Regions from separate parts of the Homo sapiens genome. Here region 1 is linked to region 2. The links are contacts of gene promoters, found by promoter capture Hi-C in human tissues and cell types (Jung and others, 2019). All regions are on one chromosome and are shown on one strand. The core of a region is centred on a gene start or on the middle of the fragment in contact, and the rest is flanking DNA. Distances in the headings are between cores, read along the strand shown. Region 1 overlaps BABAM2 (BRISC and BRCA1 A complex member 2). Region 2 holds the start of MRPL33 (mitochondrial ribosomal protein L33).

The links. Contacts are between HindIII fragments. The study calls those that stand out against the background at their distance.
Region 1: a contact is called between a fragment that was not itself captured here and the fragment with the promoter of MRPL33 in region 2, in 1 of the 25 tissues and cell types used here (aorta).

What each region holds. Positions count from the first base shown.
Region 1 is chr2:27,913,760-27,918,147 of GRCh38, forward strand. All of the region lies in intron 2 of BABAM2 (BRISC and BRCA1 A complex member 2), which reads left to right. Among named protein-coding and RNA genes, the nearest start is that of BABAM2-AS1, 25 kb to the left of the region's middle. The HindIII fragment of the contact is 8,075 bases long and covers 1-4,388 here.
Region 2 is chr2:27,769,214-27,773,469 of GRCh38, forward strand. MRPL33 (mitochondrial ribosomal protein L33) reads left to right here and starts at 2,506. Exons shown (of 4, transcript NM_004891.4): 1 at 2,506-2,586; 2 at 3,461-3,479. The coding sequence starts at 2,565. RefSeq lists enhancers at 2,148-2,267, 2,501-3,317, 2,558-2,687. The HindIII fragment of the contact is 4,142 bases long and covers 1-3,944 here.

The sequences.
Region 1 (4,388 bases), core at 76-2,575, 140 kb after region 2:
ACATTTTAAAGATCACCTTTTTTTGATGTTTGCTTCTTAAAGCTGTAATGTAGTTATATTTTCTAAGTTGAACGTCTTAAACACTATGCCAGTGATTTGGGTAACACTTCAGTTTTTCTCTAATTGTAACTGATGAAGATTTTTAATGACTATGATAGGCACATTGCCAATTTTTGTTACATTCTCTTGTTACAAGAAAATATCATTTACCATTTCAACTTTGTTTCATGTGGTTCATGGTAGAATTCATTTCTTATTAAAAACTTAATAAAGAACTAGTGTTAGCTTTAGTAGTCATATTAAAGTATAACATTGTTTTAATCTACACCAGAATTATAGAATTTCAGGAATGGAAAGCATTACACTCTAATGTTAACCATATGATCTATGAACCCCTTCTAATGCTTCTCTGCCAAGTGACTGTTCAGGCTGTCTGTAAGTATCTCTAGTCATGTGGAAGCTCCATGAGTCCCAACACAGCTCCCTGGGCAGCTAATACTGTTACATAGTGCTTTTCTACATTGACCTGAAACCCTTTGCCTTGCCACTTCTAGCTCTTGTCACAATATAGAACAAGCTTAATTGATCCTGCATGTTAGTGAAGATAGCTATCATGTTTGATAGTTCTTTCTTCTGTAGGCTAACATGTAGCCTTTGCTGCTATCATGGATTTGTGTCCTTCCCTGTCTTTTTTGGCTTCTTCTGAATGTGATCCAGTTAGTCTCTATACTTCTTAAAGTGTAACACCTAGAACTGAATGAAGTGTTCAAGGAATAGTTTTGACCAAGTGTAGGGTTGAGTATTTTTATCTTCATTTTCCAGGAAGCTACCTTCTGTGAGATTGTACTGGACAGAGCTGTGGGTTACAAACCACTGATAGCTGTGACCTTTAGGTGTGTTATGAAATCATTTTAGAGGGCCTTGATTTACATAAAAAACAGAAGAGAATGGAACAAAAGTACACGTCATGTAATAAAGCTAAGTATCATTGCTTAACAATTTTGTTTTCAATTTATATATGAACACGTACACAGATATATGTACACATATGCATATATAATATTACTCTGTACAGATATCTCTACTGATGGTGATATAAAATGGTGATATAAAAATTTCTTATTATGTGTCAAAAAAGTTTGAAAGCCTCTGGCCTAGACTAGATGCTTCCTGTCCTTGTTTCTCTGATGGCTCTGTCTAGTCTCTGCTTGCTCTGCAGCCAATTTACATGCCCCATCTTGATATTCTTCTCTTTGTTTCCCTGTAAATTTCTGCTGTGTAACATGAGAGGCATGATGGGCTCCATTAGATTTGCTTTAGGACACTGGAAAATTATTTTACTGCTCTGATTAAGTCTTTTCATGGTTGGACCCCCATGAGAATTTTTGTCTGTGGAATGAAGAAATGAAGTAGCCCGGTGAAGAGGTGAGGAGGTCAATTGAGGTTTTTAGCTCAGAAAATTATTGCCCCAGTGAAGTAAAGGGTTTAAGGAAAATAGTGTTTGAGATAGACTCTCCTCCTCCTTATTTTTTGGTTTTGCAATTTGTACTTTTGAATACTCGTGACAGCAAGTGCTCTCTGTGTGCCAGGAACTGTTCTAAATACTTTATTTATGTGCACCAAGTCAGTGGATCCTCATAACAGCTCTCTGGAGCATGACTGTTATCCTTATTTTACAAATGAGAACACTGAAGACGAGAGAGATTATTTAACTTGCACAAGGCTTTAGAATTTATAGTGTATAACAGTAGCATCTCAAGCGCAATCTAAGAACGAAATCCTTTCAAACTACCTAACAACCAAAAATACGTGGATGGCACACTTATCCCATTACCCTGTAGTTCCAGATATGCTCATATAGCAGATGCTAAGTCTTTTCATAATCATTTAAATATAAGAATTTGAAGATATAAAAAACGTTTTTTTTCTATCTTTAGAAAGCACTTTTCAGTAACAGGAAAGGGAATCCTTTAATGACACTTCAGAATCTATTAATTCTTCCTTTTCCTTTCTTCCCCACTCTTCTTTATCTAATTCTCTATTTTTGGCTCTACCCTGTCATCAGTTTCCTACTACAATTCTCTCTCTCTACTTTTTCATTTTCTTTTTGTTTCTTCTCCCCATCTCCCTATCTCCCCATCTCCACTGGTTTTCCATCTATTCTTTCCTTTACTCTGCTTTTGTGCTTTCCATATTCATTCAAATTTATTTTTTTAGATAGGTTAAGCATGTACTGAGCACCAAGTAAGTGTGAGGCATTGTTGAGATACAAACATAAATAAAGCATGTAGCATGAGAGCTAATCAGGGTGAGATCAAAGCTCTGCTAGTACATTCCCTTGAGAATCAGAGCTATTGGAGCATGCCAAGGTAAATACTCCTTAGGCCTTCCCTATATGGATCAGGAATGTCTATGGGATTTAGATAAATAGTATGCAAATAATATAAAATATGAGCCCCAGAGTTCAGAGAATAGGCAGCATTTAGGACATGTTTTGGATCAAGGCATAAAAACAGTGGCCTAAAAAGTTTACAGGAATATTTTCATTGGAAAATTAGTAGTGTTTAGTATAAAAATTACTTCTTATAAAATAACACTGTACATTGAATGTATGAAAATGGTATTTAAGTTGGCCTTGGCCCTGGGGATCTCTTATATAACATTTACTAATATGAGTAATAATTACCAGCATTCCCACAGTTGAAATAGCAAACAGTCCAGGACATTTCTGTAACTTGTTTGACCTTGTCCACTCCAGCTCTACCTTGCTCACTTGCAGTATTTATGAAATAGCTTTCAGGTACTTCCTGTGTGCCAGCAGGTATGCTGCTGGACACTGAGGGATCCAGGGTTTAATGCATTCTCTTTCTTCTTAGAGTTTTCAGTCTAGCAGTGCCTGTCTCTTAGGTTTTGCCCTTACTTAAAGACAATTGCCCATAACTATTTCTCCTTCCCCTCACTTGGCCAGATCCTATGCATTCTTAGAGGCCAGTTGTATTCCAGTGAACCTTCCTTGGTTACCCAAGCTAAAAGTGGTTTCTCTGCTCTCTTCGCTCCTATTGTGTTTATTTTCTTTAACCACTAATTTGGCAATTAATCATGTTAATTGCTTTGTGACTTGTATCTATTGTTGTCTTGACTTGTTATTTAAATTGTGTTGTGTGACTTTCATAGTTTGATTTTTGTCTTCTGATTACAAGTTCTTGAGAATAGAGAATCCTTTGTGTAACTCTTATAGCAATAATCACTCCAAACTTTTTTTTTTTTTTTTTTTTTTGTGACAGAGGCTTGCTCTGTTGCCAGGCTGGAGTGCAGTGGCACGATCTCGGCTCACTGCAACTTCCGCCTCCTGGGTTCAAGCGATTTTCCTGCCTCAGCCTCCCAAGTGGCTGGGGCTACAGGCACGTGCCACCACGCGCAGCTAATTTTTGTATTTTTAGTAGAGATGGGGTTTCACCACGTTGGCCAGGATGGTCTTGATCTCTTGACCTCATGATTTGCCCGCCTCATCCTCCCAAAATGGTGGAATTATAGGCGTGAGCCACCACGCCCGGCCCAAAGTGTTTTTTTAAATTATGCACCCTGTCTTAGTCAGTTTGGGTTGCCATAACAAAATACCTTAGACTTGGTAATTTATAAACAGCAGAAGTTTATTGCTCACAGTTCTGATGGCTAGAAAGTCCAGGATCATGGCTCTGGTAGATTGTGTCTGGTGAGGGCCCGTTCCTCATAGATGATGCCTTCTCTGTGTCCTTGCATGGCAGAAGGGAAAAGGGGCAGACGAGCTCCCTCAGGCCTCTTTTATAAGGACGCTAATCCTATTTATGAGGCCTCCGTTTTATGACCTAGTCAGCTCTCAAAGGCCCTACCTCTTAATACCAACACATTGGGGATTAGATTCCAATAAGAATTTTGAGGGGCCACTAACATTCAGTCTATAGCACACCCCAAATTATTTTATTGTGTACCTCTGCTACATGCATATTTACTTATAAAAATATATTTATAGATTATAAAACATACATAAAATATAAGCTAAAAATGATATAAAGATAAAATTAACAACACTGTAAAAATAATTTATATTACTTATATTGTGGTATTTTCACCTGCCATACCTGAAAAAGAAATCTGAAAAAATATGTAGATACTAATGGAAGAAATGCTTTTGTCGTAAATTAAGTGTCCAGAAATGTGAGGGTCTGTCTCTGAACTCTTTATTCTGTTTTACTGGTTTGTCTATTTTTGTACCAACATGAGTATTTTAATTACTAACATTTATAGTAAATTTTGAAATCCAGTATTGCAAATTTCCTACCAAAGTTTTTCTTACTGTGGTAAAATACATGTAACATAAATTTACTATTTTAATCATTTTTAAGCATACA
Region 2 (4,256 bases), core at 1,256-3,755:
CTCTTTTCTTCCTCTCCCCTCTCCCCTCTCCTCTCTTGACATGGAGACTCCCTCTGTTGCCCACGCTGGGGTGCAGTGCTGCTACCTTGGCTCAATGCAACCTCTGCCTCCCAGGTTCAAGCAATTCTCCTGCCTCTGCATCCTGAGTAGCTGGAATTACAGGCGCCCACATCTGGCTAATTTTTTTTTTTAAGTTATTTTTGAGACGGAGTCTTGCTCAGTCGCCCAGCCTGGAGTGCAGTGGTGCGATCTTGGCTCACTGCAGGCTACACCTCCCAGGTTCACGCCATTCTCCTGCCTCAGCCTCCCGAGTAGCTGGGACTACAGGCACCCGCCACCACACCCGGCTAATTTTTTTTTTTTTTTTTTTTTGTATTTTTAGTAGAGATGGGGTTTCACCATGTTAGCCAGGATGGTCTCAATTTCCTGACCTCGTGATTCACCTGCCTCGGCCTCCCAAAGTGCTGGGATTACAGGTGTGAGCCACCGCGCCCGGCCAGTTGTGTTATTTTTTAGTAGAGATGGGGTTTCGCCATGTTGGCCAGGCTGGTCTCAAACTCCTGACCTCAGGTGATCTACCCTCGTCGGCCTCCCAAAATACTGGGATTGCAGGAGTGACCCACTGCACCTGGCTCTTTTCAAAAGCAAGCTTATACATTCTCCTGGATCCTGAAACTATTGACAATACTTAAAGTTAGTTTTTTTTTTTTTGCTATTTAAACATAAATATTGACATTTGTATGGTGCCTCTCACCTCAGATTCATTCATTCAATAGATATTTAATAGATGTAGCAGGCATTGTTGTAGGAACCAGGGATACAGCAGTGAGGGAATAAGCTGAAGTTCTTTTTTTTAATTAAAAAAATTTTTTTAGAGACAGGGTTTTGCTGTTGCCCAGCATTCTGGTAGCCAAAGACAATAGGGAAATCAACAAGTACACAAGTAATACTATTAATGGCAATAAGTGCTGTAGGAAAACATAAAGAAGAGTAAGGAGAATAGAGTTGGGGGCAGGGGCATGGAGTTTAAGAACTGCTATTTGGCTGGGCTAAAGTTAAAGTGACTTTCTAAGGGACAGAACAAGGACTAGAAATCATGTTCCTTGGCTTCCAGTCTTGTGTTTTCTTATAAATCCTCTAAAGGAAATATAAGAAACCTTATCCTCTTGAACATCTGAAGCTCTTTTTTGCCAATGCAAGGTAAGGAAGGATTTCGGCACCTGGAAGGTACTCAGTAGCTGGAGTCCGGTTATGGGAAGATAAATATCAAGAATGATTAGAAGGAAAAAAAGTATTATAGGTACTAAGGAGAAGGACGGTCTTAATTTAAAAAATTGAATTGTATTGTATGGAGAGCTGATTTTTTTCCTCCTCATCTTCTTTGTGATGGCACAGAGAGCTGAATTTTCTTTAAAACAGTTTTATTACTTTTTTTTTTTTTTTTTTTTGAGACGGAGTCTCACTTTGTCGCCCAGGCTGGAGTGCAGTGGCGCTATCTCGGCTCACTGCAACCTCCGCCTCCCGGGTTCAGCTAATTTTTGTATTTTTAGTACAGGCGGGATTCCGCGACGTTGGCCAGGCTGGTCTCAAACTCGTGACCTCAAGTGATCTGCCTGCCTCAGCCTCCCAAAGGGCTGGGATTACAGGCGTGAGCCATGCGATTAAATCTTATTTCACATCTGTAAGACTTCATATGTAGATACAAATCACGGATTAGGAAAAAAATCCAAAAGTCCTGATTATTAGTTGCGAAATGAGGTTACTGACGAGGTCCTTGGTGTTAGAGGAGCCCAGGTTCCTTACAGAGCCATGAAAAATTAATGATTGCAAACTGGTAGGTCCCAATGTCTACTGGGAAAGGCATGAGTCTTTGGAGTCAGATAAAATCTAGGTTTAAATTCTTACTCTGCCACCTGGTAGTTCTGTGATATTAGGCACGTGATGTGAATGCTCTCAATCTGTTATTTGGCTTCTATGTCAGGAACTGTGCTAGGTGTTTGGATACAGAAGTTTGAGATGCAAAGGGTCCTGCCCTCCTAGAGATTGGGATAACTAAGGAAAGGTGGGGTTCTTAATGCCGAAGGGACTCAGAAGAGTGAGAGTAAGGCTTAACCAGGCGGAGAGGGAGTTGGGTCGGGGGAGGCAACATTTTAAGAAAATATGCGAGGGGCTGATACGCTGGAGCGGCCGAAGTACAATACACAGTTGTTCTTGTGGGTCTAATGCAGGTGGTTGCGATTATTTCGTGAAACAAATATGGAAAGCACCTAACGCTGAAAGCACTTGACCCAGAAATAGGAGTCAGGGCCGGGGCGCGAACCCTGAGCTGTAAATCCCTTTCCAGAATGATGAGGATTCCAACCTCCAGCACGACAAAAGCAAAACACACTCGCTCTGAGAAACCGAGGAACGAGCCAGACGACTGGAGGCAGGTTCCAGGCGGGGGGCGTGGCCTCGGGCGACTGCCGGATGTCCTCTTCCAGAACCGGGCCGTGCCCCGGAAGCAGTTGTTGTTGGTTGGGGGCCTTTTGGCCGGTGACGGAGACTGCCCAGGTGTGGTCACCATGTTCCTCTCCGCGGTCTTCTGTAAGTGGGGCTGGAGACGCCGGTAGGGGTTACGGCGAGGGTTAGGGGGCCGTGACAGGCAGGGCCCCGGAATGATGCGGGGAAGGATGTGCGAACAGGACGGGAAGCTGCAGCTGCGTACTTTTCCAGGCCTTCAGGACCACAGCGTCCGGCATGCCCCGCGGCGCGCCTCCCTGCGCGGACCTGTGGGTGCCTGAGAAGGGGTCTGCGGTGTCTGGATTCAATTGCCGTCCTCACGGACCGTTGAGTCTGGCTGTGGGGCGTTTTTCTCCAGCCCGTGTTAGGAGAATCTTTGTCCGAAGGACCTCAGAATTTGCAGCCCACCTATTTCGAACTCTAAAAATAAGGAAACCGCTCCCGAGAGGGGCAATGAATTGCCTGAGTAATGCGGCAGGGCAGTTAAAGAAGTCCTCGGGCTCCCGAGTCAGTGCTCTTCTTTACCCTTGGCTGACTTCCCAGTTAGATTTAGTATCTGGTTTTCACCACATGTGATGGTTGTTGTAATTTGCAAAGGTTAAACTTGTCAAACAAGAAGCTTGCTGCAGCGCGAATACTTGCACCTTAGAAGAGGGAAAAAATGGAGCAGGTATTACTTTAGAAAGATTTAAAAGGTAGCCAGTCCAACAGTCATGAAATTATGCAAAATATTAAATCTAGAATTGTGTTGGTCTGATTGGATCTTTTAACCTTCCTTCTATAAAATCCTAAGGGGATCCCTAATAGATAGGGAATAGTTACTTGAGTGACACCTCATGGCATATTTCATAAGTTAAATATTTTTGGTTATTACTGATATTTATATGAACTTTGCATAAGAAAGAGAATACATTTATATTTTTATTTTCTTTTCCAACCCTTCCTGTCTACAAAAAAGTTGCCAAGAGCAAGTCAAAGTAAGTAAAGATTTTTCCTTTTTTAAACGTCACTTGTTTATGTTGGATTTGTTAGTCTAGCTGCTCCCAGTACATCCTTATATGAAATTAAGCATTGGGCCTTGATTTCCTAAGAGTTGGTTTGTGGATTACTTAGTTGATTATTTTTTCTTTATGAACTCTTTCAAAAATATTTTCCCTCCTGCTGAACTGAGCTACTTCTGTGAGCATTGAAATACTTGAAGGAACCTTTGCTGCTTTTCTAGTCCCAGGATTTGTGAGCTCACTGTCTGTTTCTAAACAAACCATTGGGCTGTGCTGTATTTGGACTACCACCATATTTCCATTTCCTCAAATCGAGGACCAGGGGCCATGTGTCTGGAGCTCACTACGGGAATCCAGAAGAACAAACTCTGCTTTGATTAAATCATAGTCTGTTTTAATGAGTTTTGTAATCCTTTGCATTCATGGTATAAGCATTTCAAAAATAGCCAAGATTAAAGATTCCATGCTGTACCAGAGAGACTAGAACTACCAAACTTGTATTTCAAAATAAATGTTGTAGACAATAACAGAAGATTTTGTGGTAAAAATAGGGAGGTTCTAAAGCAGCTTTTCCTTGCAACTCAAGACATTGAAAATCCTTAAAGCTAGTCTTTTGGATTAACGTTAATGAAAAACATGTATGTTAGCGCTTTCCCTCCCAGTATCTTTCAGTGATTCACGTAGCTTTCGCCACAGTCCAGTTATTTATGTCAAAATTCCCTGCCCCAGGGATCTATAGGAATCTCTTGCCTT